Regions from separate parts of the Homo sapiens genome. Here region 2 is linked to region 1. Evidence: promoter capture Hi-C in human tissues and cell types (Jung and others, 2019). All regions are on one chromosome and are shown on one strand. The core of a region is centred on a gene start or on the middle of the fragment in contact, and the rest is flanking DNA. Distances in the headings are between cores, read along the strand shown. Region 1 holds the start of REEP2 (receptor accessory protein 2). Region 2 overlaps MATR3 (matrin 3).

Region 1 (6,683 bases), core at 539-3,038:
GGTAGGGTGATGCCCCCTCCCCGCTCCACTGTTCAGTTTTTCTCTAGCCCCGGAGGCAGGGAAAGGCCCAGAGGCCAGAGGGTCCAATGTAGTCCCTTGCGCCATGATCCTTGGTTACACACAAATATGTCATGGAGACTGGGAGTCAGGTCACTGCCACAGGGTGTCTTCCTTCTTGACCTCATGCCCATTCACACCCATCTGCCCTTACCCTCCACCTCCCTCAGAGCCAGGCTCTGCGAGGGAACCTGACACCACCTAACAGGGCACCCTACCTGGCAGGCAGAGGTACCACTGTGGCCCTGGGGCCCTAGGGAACAGAGGGCACAGGGGCAGGAGGCCCTGAGAGAGGCAAAGAGGCTTATTCCCCCATGTAAACACCACAGGGACAGGGCTCAGGGGAGGGCCCCGCTGGTGATCCAAGTACAGAATGCAGACAAGACACAGGCCGGGAAAGAAGAGGACCGATGCCCTTTGGGGCTTGCCCAGGCAAGAGAGAAGCAGCCACCCTGAAGGCCACATGGAGGCGTGAGGCCCCTCCATTCCCCCTGGGATGGGTGGGGGAAGAGAAGGAGTCTAGAGTAAACCAGGACAGAAGCACTTGGCCGGCCCGGCTGTACCGAATGGGAAGAAGGGAGCAGGGTGGGGCTGCCGGTGTCAGTCCCCAACGGTGGAGGCCGAGGGGCAGTGTCCTCATTAGGGCAGGGGATAGCTCCGAGAACCACGAGGAGCCCCTGTCAGGCTCAGCCCCTTGACAATGTGTGGCTGTCGCCTGTTTCCACATGGACAGGAGGGATACTTCCAAACCGGCTGGTGCAAGTGGAGTGCGGAGCAGAATCCTCAAGGACAAAGTCTGGGCTCGTGGGGAATGGTGTGTGTTCCCTCCTGGGGCCCGGGGAGGTGCCAGAGACACAGCTCCACAGTGTGGCTGGCAGCCTGGAATGAAGGCCACGGAGCGTCCTCCCCCAGCGGGGTCCACAATCCCAGGCTGAGCACACACATCCCCTCTCCCAGTTACCTCTCACACTTTGTCCTCCGAGCATTTCTGCTTCCCGATACCCAGACTTCCTCCCTAGGGGGCCTAAGGGCATATGCCCTCGTCCCCAGTCTCCTGACAGTGAGTGGAAGGGAGAGACCAAGGGGCCTGGTGATGGCTCTGAGCTGCGGAATGATGATGAGGCCCTGCCTTGCTCCACTCTCTTCCATCACCCTGTTACCTCCCCCAGAGGGACAGGGCCCGGGTCTGAGGATCTCCTCCAGCCCAGACCTGCTAGGTGGGGGAGGGGACGCGCCTGCCTCCCCTTTTAAATCAAGCCGTGCTGCTCAGCCTCTAGGATGGGCGCAGGAGCAAGGACGGTAGAAATAAAAGAGGTTATTAATAAAGAATGTGGGTGAGGTCCCTGGGAAGCCAGGCCTGCCACGCTCCCCTAATATTCCCCCCTCCAGTCCTGGGTGCCACATCTCCATGTCTCTGGGGGCCCCAAATAAGGACGCAGCGCCTTTAGGTGACTCTGCTGCACGAAGCTTCGGAGAAGTCCACCCGGGCTTTAACACCCCCGCCCTCCATCACAGCCCGCATCACCCCCCGCCGCCGCCGCACTCACACCACCAGGCGAGAGATGATCCAGGACACCATGGCGGGGCCGGGCGCGGCGCGGGGCGGGGACCCGGCCCGGCCGAGGATGCAGCTGCCTGAGGCCGAGCGGCGGCGGCGGCGGCAGCAGGAGCCGCAGTAGCAGCAGCAGCCGCTGCAGCAGCCGCCGCGGGGGCAGCGGAGCGCCCAGCGCCGCCGTTAAAGGGGAGGTCCCTGCCGCAGCGGCGGGCCGTGGGCGGTGGCGGCTCTTAAAGGGGAGGCCGGGAGGCCGCCGCGGCGGCGGCGGCGCGCCCCCGCCCCGGCACCTGCTGTGGCCGGGCATGCGCCTCCGACCCTCAGTGCCCTGCCTTCCTCGAATCGCTTGTTCATCTTTCTTGGGTTTCAAGCCCTAGGCTGTTGTCGTGGAGGTCTCCATGGTTACATCCTGAAATCGACCCCTGCCCACCTCCTGCCCTGCCCACACCAGGCGCTTACTGTGTGCCAGCCCCTGTGCTAAGAGCTTCACTGCGTTGCCAGTGAATCCTCTTGACCACCCTATAAGGCAGGCGCTATAAAAGCCCTCATTTTGAAGATAAGGGAATGAGAAGCTTAAGGCTCAATAATCTGTTGAGAGTCACAAAGCCACCAAGTCATGCTGCTAAGATGACCCCAGGAAGCCTACTTTAAACAGGTTACATCCCCCAACTGCTGACTAGCAAACTCTCCTCATTACAGGCCCTGAAGACATCCACCTGAGCTCCTGAGTCACAGGTACAGCCGCACCTGTCCACCCCACTCCTTCTCACCCCGTTGAAAGAGGATCTCCCCTGACCAGATGATGTTTTGTTTTTTTGAGACAGGTCCTCACTCTGTCGCTCAGGCTGGAGTGCAGTGGCACAATCTCAGCACACCTCCTGGGCTTGAATGATCCTCCCGCCTCAGCCTCCCGAGTAGCTGGGACTACAGGCCCAAAACACCACCAGCTAATTCCTGTTTTTTTGTTTTTTGTTTTTTTTTGCCAAGATGGGGTTTTGCAATATTGCCCAGGCTGATCTCCAACTCCTGAGCTCAAGCGATCCACCCGCCTCAGCCTCCCAAAGTGCTGGGATCACTGGTGTGAGCCACCGGGCTGCTGGTCTGCTTTTTTAGGTTGTCAGCTCCTAAGCTTTGCAGCGGAACAGAGCTTTATGCTCTCAATGTGGTTACTGACAACAAAGGGTCAACCTTCTTTTCAAACAGAGGGGCTGCGAGAGGGTCCTGGGGCTCCAGTTCCACCCCCATCAGCAAGCACTAGTGGCAGTGAATGTCCTGATTCTAAAGACATTTATATCCAGAATGTAGGCTAGCCTGCCTCCTGATCTTCAGGAAAGCAACCAACCTCCAACCATCCACCAACACCCCCAGCCCTATTGCTCTCCTTTCCTGTCCCATTTTAGAGCTTCTGCATTCCTCTACCCTTTATGTTGAGTTGTAATCCTTCGGGTGACCACAGCATCAACCTGTGCCCATCTGGGCTGAAAGGACACATTCAGAACTGTGTATTTCAAAGAGTCATGGTCTTATTCAAGCTCAGTATCCCTGAACAACACAATGGTCTATTTCTAACCTGGTAAATTATATTTCCAGGTTCAAACACTTTGGAAGATGTTTCCCAAAACGTTCCAGAAAAGCAGCCTCTGATAACCCCTCTTGCTATTCTTTACAACTTCCTCTCCAGAAAACATCTCCTAATTGGAATGCAGTCTGTTATCACCCCACAATGAAACACTTTAATTACTGCTTGATAAATCCCACATGAGTGTCTCCCACCATCTCTAAGGTGGATCTATGGCCACACGTTTCATGTAGGCAGCCAGGCTGCCTGCTTAAGAATCCCACCACAGACTGTCCAACTTTGCTGAGGCCACACACCATGACCCTTCCCCCCAGACTCTGCCACAGGAAGGGAGGACCCCAACTTTCCCACTCCATTCACAAAGCATAAAGTATGGGGAAACATGTCTCTCTTTCTACCCTCTAATTCATGTGGCCCCTTCCCCTTACCCCCAATTCCCCAAACCATACTGACCTCACCCTGGCACTTTCCTTTTTTCTAACATGGCACAGTCTCAACAAGCAAAGAAAAATATCTGGGTGTAGCACAGTCATGAAGACCTGGAAATGAATCCCCCACCTCCAACCCAACTCCCAATCTGATGTTGATTTTAGAAGGGTTGGTACACGAATAATTTAGTCCACTCCAAACAGATTTGTTAGATTTTTAATAAGAACATGGAAATCCCAATCAGCCCTTCAACAAAATTAAAATACAGAAAGTGAAATTAAAAGTATTCTACATTAAATGACTTTTATTTAAAAAAAAAAAAAAAAGTAACTGTGAACATATAAACAGCCTGCAGGGCACTACAGTACAGCTGGAGAGATATACATTTTCCAATGTACCTATGGGCCAATGAATCCCACCATTTTCAAATAAATCCTTAATCAGACTCCACTCAGTTGGAAAGTTTTGCTGAAAATATTTCTGGATAAAAAACAAAAAACCTCATGTTGGAAATCAACTGTCCTTCCCATTTGGAAACATTAAGAGGAGTCCCCAGGGAACACTGGTAATAGGTGAAAATGGTTCCTGGAGTCACCAGTGTTGTACACACACATGGGGAACACACCACAGCTTAGATGTGACAAAGTTCCTTCTCATATGACTGTTCCCTCAAGGTAAGACTAAGATGGGAGGGGGAGAAAAAGAATCCTAAAAAAGCCAATTTTTAAAAATTCTGCTTTGGCTGATTTTGTGCTATAATGGGTAGCTGATTTCTAAAAATCATATTTCTTCAAAGAGTTTTATATCGAAAGGAAGACTAAATGTAATGTGCCTTTCCTTATAATCCAGGAAAACAACTGTGGTATTTCAAAAATTCTAAAAATATCTACTTTCATGAAATAGTAACTATTTCACTACAAACCTATTTTTCACTAAATACACACATTTCCTAATCCTGGAGCCTCCTGGGAAAAGCAGTGGGTTCTCCCTGGGTCTTGCAAGACTCCAGTGTTCACAGGAGAGTGTGGGGAATAGCTTCACCCCGTCTCCTGGGATGGGCTTTGTCAGAGGTCACGTGCAGAGACGCTATCAGACTTCCACCAGGCATGTTTAAGCAATTACCCCATACTTGTACCAGTTATGTGATTTCCCCTATCTCCAAACACATTTCCACTTAACTAGGCACAAGAGGAAAAGAAAAGAAAGGTGTGCCCGTGAATCTCAAATCAGGAGAATGTGCAGGAAAGCCCCGCCATGTTCAGGCAATTTGGATTTCCAAAAGGCCACAGGATAGGGATGTGGCACTCTTGGCTTGGAGTCTCAAACTGTGTGTGTGAACAGTACGACTTTCCTGTGTCAACCTTCAGTGTTGAGGCAGCGTAGAAGAGAGTGGCTGGAGAGTTTGGAATACTGACCACACTGGCTCTGGGTGAAGGGCCTCTGCTCCAGCAAAGAGCCCTGCCGTTCCCTGTTAAGTGTTGTGAGTGAAAGACCTGCTTCACAGAGGAGCTTGGAGTTTCTCCATGCCTAGGACCTTGCCAGTTTGGATTCATGAGCCTTGAGGGTGCCAACCGCATCTTTCACTGCATGGTAAATGATGTTCTTCACCTAGAGAAGGTGTACAGCAAAGTCAGTTCACAGCAGCCCCATGCAAATGTACGTTCTACCTTGACTGTAAGCCTACTGGTTTAGTGGGGAAACTCCCAAAAAGGACTGTGCGTTCCTGTATCAATCCCCACAGTCATTTACAAATCACATAGGGCATGAGGTGTGTACTCAAAAAAGAATAATGAAGTTATGTGAAAGGCCATCTGATCACCATCATTTATGTGCTTACTATGTCCTGGGCAGGCGCTGCTGCTGAGCTCTTTATGTGGACCTTTGCTTAATCCTTGACAGAATCCTATGAGGTAGGTTCTATTATTATCATGCCCAATTTACAGAGGAGAAACTGCGGAAACTAAGGCCACAGTGAACACCTGGAGAACTTTGTTTCCTTATATGGTTAAGAGGCTTCCTTAAGGTTCTACAGCTAATAAGGATGCATTAAAACAAGAGGGGAAAGCAGGATTATGGCCTATTTTTTCCCTTCGTGCTTATATGTTTTCTGATTTGGATATATTACCTGTGAAATTGGAACACACAATAAAAGTTATTGAAAAAAGTGAACAGGCATATTAAGGTGAAGAGAATAAAGACAGCTTTCTTTTAAAGGGCTGACAAGAAAACTGAGGTTATTTCTGGGGAGGAAAAGCGGGGAAATGCAAAGGGGAAGGGTACATGGGGGCTTCAACCATGTAGTTGCTGTATATGTATGTGTGCTATAATTTCTTAAGCTGGGTCATGGGCATCCAAGTCCTTCTTTTACTATTCTCCATTAATTTTTTTGCATTGCTTCAACAAAGATTTATGAATACCTACTATGTGTCAGACATTGTGCTAAGGAAAAGCAGTGAGTAAAATGTAAAATTCCTGCCTTCACAGAGCTTAAATAGCTTACATTCTAGTAGGGTTAAGTAACAGATTAAAAAAATATATCTATATCTGTATCTATAGCTATATCTCAGATGGTGAAAATACTACAGGAAAAATAAAGTAGTGAAAGTGGGACTGGTAGTGCTGGAGCAGGAGTTGTTATTCTAAACAGGGTAGTCAGGAAAGGTCTTTTTTTTTTTTTTTTGAGATGGAGTCTAACACTGTTGCCCACGCTGGAGTGCAGTGGCGCCATCTCAGCTCACTGCAACCTCCGCCTCCTGGGTTCAAGCGATTCTCCAGCCTCAGCCTCCCAAGTAGCTGGGACTACAGGCGCCCACCACCATGCCTGGCTAATTTTTGTATTTTTAGTAGAGACGGGGTTTCGCCATATTGGCCAGGCTGGTCTCGAACTCCTGACCTTGTGATCTGCCCACCTCGGCCTCCCAAAGTGTTGGGATTACAGGCGTGAGCCACCGCGCCCAGCCTGTTGTTTTTAAATAAAGAGACAGAGTCTGTTGCCCAGGCTGGAGTGTAGTGGGGTGATCATAGGTCACGAGAGCTTCAAAACTCCTGGGCTCAAGTAATCCTCCC
Region 2 (7,357 bases), core at 4,403-6,902, 890 kb before region 1:
CCTCAATGCTCCAAGTGTGTCCCTCCCGACCCTCCCGAAGCTGTGCAGTGTGTCGAAGAGGACAACCATCACCAATAGAGGACCGGTCTTCCTTTAAGGGTATATGTGTAGCTGGGTTTCCATTAAAACCTCCAATCTCTCAAAAATGCAAATTATCAGTACTCATCCCAAACTTAGGAAATTAGAAAACCTGGCAGGGAGCCAGCAATGCTTTAACCTGTAGGTAATTTTGATGTATGCAAACATTTGAAAACAATTTGTTTTTGAGAGTGTCTCGCTCTGTCACCCAGGCTGGAGGGCAGTGGCACCATCTCGGCTCACCGCAAGCTTCACCTCCTGGGTTCACACCATTCTCCTGCCTCAGCCTCCCAAGTAGCTGGGACTACAGGGCCCCGCCACCATGCCGGGCTAATTTTTTGTATTTTTAGTAGAGATGAGGTTTCACCATGTTAGCCAGGATGGTCTCGATCTCCTGACCTCATGATCCGCCCGCCCCGGCCTCCCAAAGTGCTGGGATTATAGGCGTGAGCCACCGTGCCTGGCTGAAAACAATTCATTTTAAAGGAAAATAATTCCTGTAACTATTTATTTGTGCACCACTGTTGATTTTTAGAATCTTGACCTTATCATCTAATGGCCAAAGTGGGAGAGTAATTCAAACCCAGCTAGCTCAACAATGAGGTCAGGGTATAAAACAACCTCAAACTCATTAAACACAGAATACCCAGGCTTTCAGCTACACTAAACTTTATTTATGATGGAAGGCAACCAACAGACTATACTCAGAGCTGCTTCTGTCCTAGTGCAAGTTATCTTAAACAGCCCATATGCTGCTCTGCAGTGTCCCAGCAGATTTCTATTACATACCATGAGCTGCTTTTGTCACAATCTTAAGGCTGAAAAAAAATCCACTGTGAACAAAGCTAAAGTAAACAATTTCAGTACACTCTTCTCCCTGTATAACCTTACTACATGCCACAACATTCAATAGTTTACTATTTCCTTTTCCAGTCCCCATCACCTTAAAAAAAGGTGGCAGGGGAACCTGTCCTTAGCGAATTCAAATAATGGCTATTCCTAAAAAGCTCCTCAGGATGTTACCACTTAAAATCACTGGAGGGACTGGGTGTGGTGGCTCATGCCTGTAATCCCAAAACTTTGGGAGGCCAGGTAGATTACTTGAGGTCAGGAGTTTGAGCCCAGCCTGGTCAACATGGTGAAACCCCGCCTCTACTAAGAAAAATTAGCTGGGCATGGCAGTTATGCACCTGTAGTCCCAGCTACCTGGGAGGCTGAGGCAGGAGAATTCAGCCAACATCATTCCACTGCACTCCAGCCTGGGCGACACAGTCTCAAAAAAAAAAATAAATAATAATAAATAAATAAATCTCTAGAGGTACTGATGCACACACACTATGGTTGGAAATTCATATTCTTGAATAACATTTCAAATGAACTTATTTTTGGAATACTCAAAGCAATATTACAGCTATCCAATTAAAGTCTTATAAAGGACACTCTCAGATCCCAAATTTACTAGCAATCGGTCAATAAAAAAGAACTGTAAAACAAACTCAAGGTACTTCTAGAAGTTTCATTCACTTTTGTAGGATAATGTAAGATTAAACTAAGGGCTGACATAGCCGTAGGAAAAATGTTCTTAAACTTTACAGCAAACATGAGTGGAAACATTCCTACTAAAAAGAGGTTTTCTCGTAATCGAAGGGCTGTTACAGATTTATCACTAACAGCTTATTATAATTTCTGATTTCTAAATGCTCTCAAATGTAGGTATTAAAAACATAGCATTCTTTCCTTCAACTTGCTAAATCCAACAAAGTTGAAGCTATGAAAAAGCCATCACTGAAAGGAAACACTGAAGAACTCCATTGTGCACATAATGCTTTATGTACCTGCTGTTAAAAATTGGAATTAAACAGAAGTGGGTAATTAGTAAAGGCTAAAATTAAATTGCAGAAGTAAACTGGCAAGGATTTTTTGTGCATGTCACATTAAAATCATCACCTACTTTTCAACGGGAGAGATCATAAAATTTAGCCAACTATTTGAAGTATCCTTTAATAAACTGGGGTCTGAACATTTGAAAGACAATGCCTATCCTGTTTTTGTAGATTTTTTTGAAATTAAAACTTTGTTTCTTGGCCAGGGATGGTGGCTCATGCCTACAGTCCCAGCACTTTGGGAGGCTGAAGCGAGCAGATCACTTGGGCCCAGGAATTCAAGATCAACCTGGGCAACATGGCAAAGCCCCATCTATACAAAAAAACCAAAAACTAGCCAGGTATAGTGGCATGAGCCTGTAGTCCCAGCTACTCAGGAGACTGAGGTAGGAGGGTCATTTGAGCCCAAAGGCTGAGGTTGCAGAGAACTGTGCCACTGCACTCCAGTCTGGGTGACAGAGTGAGACCCTGTGTCAGGGAAGAAAAAAAAATTGTTTACAACAGATAATCCAATATACCAAGAGTCTCTACGTAATTATTTTGAAAAGCTGCAGAACTAATTCTTGCTCATCCGTATTACTTCCAATTGTACTGTTAAGTCATCAATATCTCTAAACATAAGCTTCTGTTTGTTCACCTGTAGCATTTTTAATTCATAAGGTTTTTAAAAACCACAAATGGCCTCACTTTTAGTTATGTAACAGGAACAAGAAATCCACCAGCAACAACATTTTTAAAACTCAGATCTTTAGCGGCAGTCTTTAGAATTCACTCTAGATTTAAAAGTAATAAATTGTTAAAGCATGCACAAAGTTTAAGAGCGAATAAAAACCACAACTGACAAATACGTTGGTTAACATTCCAAACATGTATAACCAATTAACATGGCCTAGGGTTTTCTTTTTATTGGTATTCACTTCAGTAACTTGAATCCACAGATATAAGCAGTATATAACCAGAAAGTTACAAGTAAACACAAATTATACATGCAAATTTCTGTTCACAAAGGTCACATGTGCAGGTACATGAATTAGAAGCGTGCATCTAGGATTATGGCCAAACTGTTTTAAAAATGCAGAAATGTAAAATTACATCTTGAAAATATGAAGAGATGGTCTACACACTTCAAAAATCAAATGTTGCTTATACCAGAGATGTATGACAATCACGGGATTCAAGTGACAAGCAGTAAGATCTCAAAAATTAATACTGGTCAAAGATAACGGGAATATTTTTGCATTTCACTGAAAATACATTGACTACTAGAATACGAAATCTAGCAGGAACTCAGGGAAAAAAATTACAAAATCTAAAGCCAATTACTTAATATTTCTTATTACCTAAACAACAGCATGACATTAACAGAAAACTGCACCTGCATTTCAATTGCCAATCTCACGTTAATTAAGTTCTCCAAAAATGAAATGCAACCAAAACGGGTTCAAACTCCAAATGAAAGTCTGCAAGGCTCAGATTAAAACATGGAATGTTTCAGATGAAAGTAATAAAAACACTATTGGTTTTGTTCTTTATTGAATGGAATAAAATGTTGACATTTCTTTGAAACTTGGAACTACTAAATTTCATTTTTCCAAATGGTTCTACATTTTTTTCTTAGTGGTGCAAGTTGTCTTAAGTAGCTTAGGAAGTCAATCTCTACAAAGTACTTCTGTCTGTTGCCATTCTGATAAAACAAAAACTATTCATTAACTTAACCATATGTGTATTTTTTTTGCTATAACACTTAACACATGAACAGACATCTATTATTTCTCCACTAAAACAAAAGAGTACAATAGTTTTCTTCTAACTATCAGTATTGTATTTAAAAAAGGTTAACATTAAAAACAAAGAACCATTATTTTCTTTGAAATCATTAAATCTCCTTGCACATCTTAAGTTTCCTTCTTCTGTCTGCGTTCTTCTGCCAATTTATTCAGAAATTTCTATAAAGAAAGAGAATTACAGCCATTAAGTCACCTAAGAGAAATGCAGCAAAATGGATTAATTCCAAAATCAAATATCCTATATCCAAGTTTAGGGACTTAAACTATAATTTTGTCAATATTTTCAACAATTAGTTAATCCTCATTAGCACACAAAAACTTTCAGGACATTACAATAAGGCACGGGGAAAAAATGGTAAAAGGTATAAAATGGGTATTTCAAATGTTATAATTAACCCTAATTTTTAGAGATGAGAAAACAAAGACCACAGTCACACTGAACTGACACTATTCAAGAACTATGGGTTTAAATGACATGCACTTTTATTCTTTTTTTTTTGAGGGAGAGTTTTGCTCTGTTGCCCAGGCTGGAGTGCAGTGTCGTGATCTCGGCTAACTGCAACCTCCACCTCCCAGGTTCAAGTGATTCTCCTGCCTCAGCCTCCCAAGCAGCTGGGATTACAGGCACCCGCCACCAAGCCCAGTTAATTTTTTTGTACTTTTGGTAGAGACGGGGTTTTCACCGTGTTGGCCAGGCTGGTCTCAAACTCCTGATCTCAGGTGATCTGCCTGTCCCCGCCTCCCAAAGTGCTGGGATTACAGGCAAGAGCTATCACATCTGGCCTCAATGCACTACTCATTAAATCACCTGAACAAACATTTTCTTGCAAGGCCAGCAGTAAATATTTTAGACTCATTGGGCCATTCAGTCTTTGTTACAACTACTCAATCCTGCACTCAATTATAAACTAAAACAACTATAGATGACACTTAAATGATTATGGCTGTGGGTTCTAATAAAACCTTACAAAAACAGATGACTGAGCCACGAGTGTAGCTTGCTGACCCCTGCCATTAAACCTGTGACTGCTAGAGTTTCTAGACACGGGAGCTCCATTAAGACACTAATGAAAGTACAAAAGACATATTAAAAAATCTAACCTAAAATGTCCAAAGCTTCTTTCCATCTCATTGGAATTTCAACTTTATATAGTTAATGCAAAATAGTAAGAATTAAAAGCCATTATATCTTTTAAAGAAAAACAACAACAACAAAAAATCACCCCACAAACATCCAGTTAGGAAAGTATCAATTTACCATTAGCAAGTTACTGTAATGCTTAACAGTTTCTTGATGAAGGTGACAAAGTTTTTTTTTTTTTTTTAATAAAAGGAAATAATAGGCCGGGCATGATGGCTCACGCCTGTAATCCCAGCACTTTGGGAGGCTGAGGCAGGCGATCACCTGAGGTCAGAAGTTCAAGACCAGCCTGGCTAACATGGTGAAACCCCGTTTCTACTAAAAATACAAAAAATTAGCCAGGCGAAGTGGCACACGCCTGTAATACCAGCTACTCGGGAGCCTGAGGCAGGAGAATTGCTTGAACCCGGGACGCAGAGGTTGCAGTGAGCTGAGATTGTGCCATTGCACTCCAGCTTGGGGAACAAGAGCAAAATTCTGTCTCAAATAAAAAAAAAATAAATAAAATATAAGGAAATAATAAAAGGAGCCACAAGAAGCACCTAGCAATCTTTTATATTATTTCCATATTCTTCTCGACAATACATATAGTTTTTGACCCCAAACAGCTTAAAATCAAAGCAGATAAAAATATTTGTACCAGGGCGGGCACTATGGCTCAGGCCTGTAATCCCAGCATTTTGGGAGGCTGAGGTGGGAGGATCATCTGAAGCTGGGAGTTCAAGACCAGTCTGACCAACATGGAGAAACCCCATTTCCACTAAAAATACAAAATTAGCTGGGCATGGTGGCGCATGCCTGTAATCCCAGATACTCAGGAGGCTGAGGCAAGAGAATGGCTTGAACCTGGGAGGCGGGGGTTGGGGTGAGCCAAAATCGCGCCATTGCACTTCAGCCTTGGGCAACAAGAGCAAAACTGTCTCAAAAAAATAAAATAAAATAATTTGTACTACATTGCTGCTACCATTGCAAATAGCCACAATTCTTTCTTCATATACAGGATGGTAAAAGACATATAGGTGGCAAAGAGCAGTTACATTTAAAAAAAAAAAAAAAAACAGAAGTGACACACAGCCAAGAACTTGAATTATTTCCAAAATTAAAGATTACATTCATCCATTTAGTCAACAGAGAACATATCTAATGACTGAGTAACTATAGTTAACTTATTATAAAGCAGTGTGAAAAACCAAGGTATCTATAATTGACTTGTTTAGCAACTACTTTTAAGTTTCAGTCACTATTTCAATAGGTAGTCCAAAGAAGCTGATAATTACAAAAACAAATTTCAATATATCTCAATAGGAATTATTCTTTAGTGATGTTGTGGTTTATGTATTTATGCTTTTGATCTTTATATACTTTTGGTCATAAAAATAACTGAAGTGTCAATAATAATGTCAATATTAAAAATTATTTTAATATGAATGGTCATGCCACTTTTAGTATTCAGACTCCCAGCATCTTTCAAATTAGAGAAAGTACAGCCCAACAACAATCTGAGAATACTTGAATAAGTTTAATTCTACCACAGAATTTATAATATGGTTAGAAAACACTAAATTGTTATGTAGCAAGGGTAAACTATGACAAGAGGTTCAACAGATGTTTTGATAACCCATCAATAAAGAAAGAAAAGGCCAGGCGCGGTGGCTCATGCCTGTAATCCCAGCACTTTGGGAGGCTGAGGTGGGTGGATCACCTGAGGTCAGGAGTTCAAGACCAGCCAGGCTAGCCAACATGGTGAAACCCCATTTCTACTAAAAATACAAAAATTAGCTGGGTGTGGTGGTGCATGCCTGTAATCTCAGCTACTTGGGAGGCTGAGGCAGGAAAATTGCTTGAACCCAGGAGGTAGAGGTTGCAGTGAGCCAAGATTGCACCATTGCAATCCAACCTGGGCAACAAGAGAGAAACTGTCTTTAAAAAAAAAAAAAAAAGTAAATAAAAAGTTATCTTCAGGAGAAAGCACTGCACTGAGTCTAGAGAGAACACTATACACATTTTACTTATATACCCCACTTATTTCCATAACTTGTTAAGTTTTCACAAAAGAACTGTTTTACATTCAACCTTACCTTTAATTTCTGATAATGAGGAAGGCTGCTGCAATGAGTATTCTTTGCAACTTCTTCATTTGTATAAAAGAGTGAACACAGCTTACAGTAAAACCCTGTTTTAGGTATCACATAGTCTATACCTAGAAATACAAACATACATTCTTACAAATTAAACTGAAGATTTTATTTAGTATTCACAATTTCACCTGTCAACATAATTTAAATGAAACAACATGTTTTTGAGAAGTCCAATACAGCCTAAGATAAAAAACAAAAACCGAACCATATTTTGCTTTTACCTAATTGATGTTTGAGGTCTCACCTAACTGTATTCTTAAAAAAAGAAATATAATACAGAAAAACAACACAGAAAAGCAAAACAAAAGCGTGTAACTTGCAAGAAATTTT

What was found. The method cuts DNA at HindIII sites, captures the fragments that hold promoters and counts their contacts. A contact is called where the count stands out against the background at its distance.
Region 2: a contact is called between a fragment that was not itself captured here and the fragment with the promoter of REEP2 in region 1, in 1 of the 25 tissues and cell types used here (lymphoblastoid cells).

Annotation. Positions count from the first base shown.
Region 1 is chr5:138,434,162-138,440,844 of GRCh38, reverse strand. It overlaps REEP2 (receptor accessory protein 2), which reads right to left and starts at 1,788. Exons shown (of 8, transcript NM_001271803.2): 1 at 1,605-1,788. The coding sequence starts at 1,636. KDM3B (lysine demethylase 3B) reads right to left here. Exons shown (of 24, transcript NM_016604.4): 24 at 3,818-5,225. The coding sequence ends at 5,145. RefSeq lists an enhancer at 622-1,155 and a silencer at 1,541-1,960. The HindIII fragment of the contact is 10,254 bases long and covers 1-2,460 here.
Region 2 is chr5:139,325,895-139,333,251 of GRCh38, reverse strand. MATR3 (matrin 3) reads right to left here. Exons shown (of 15, transcript NM_018834.6): 14 at 6,968-7,089; 15 at 1,575-3,907. The coding sequence ends at 3,857. It also overlaps the pseudogene RN7SKP64. Among named protein-coding and RNA genes, the nearest start is that of PAIP2, 12 kb to the left of the region's middle. The HindIII fragment of the contact is 3,855 bases long and covers 3,725-7,357 here.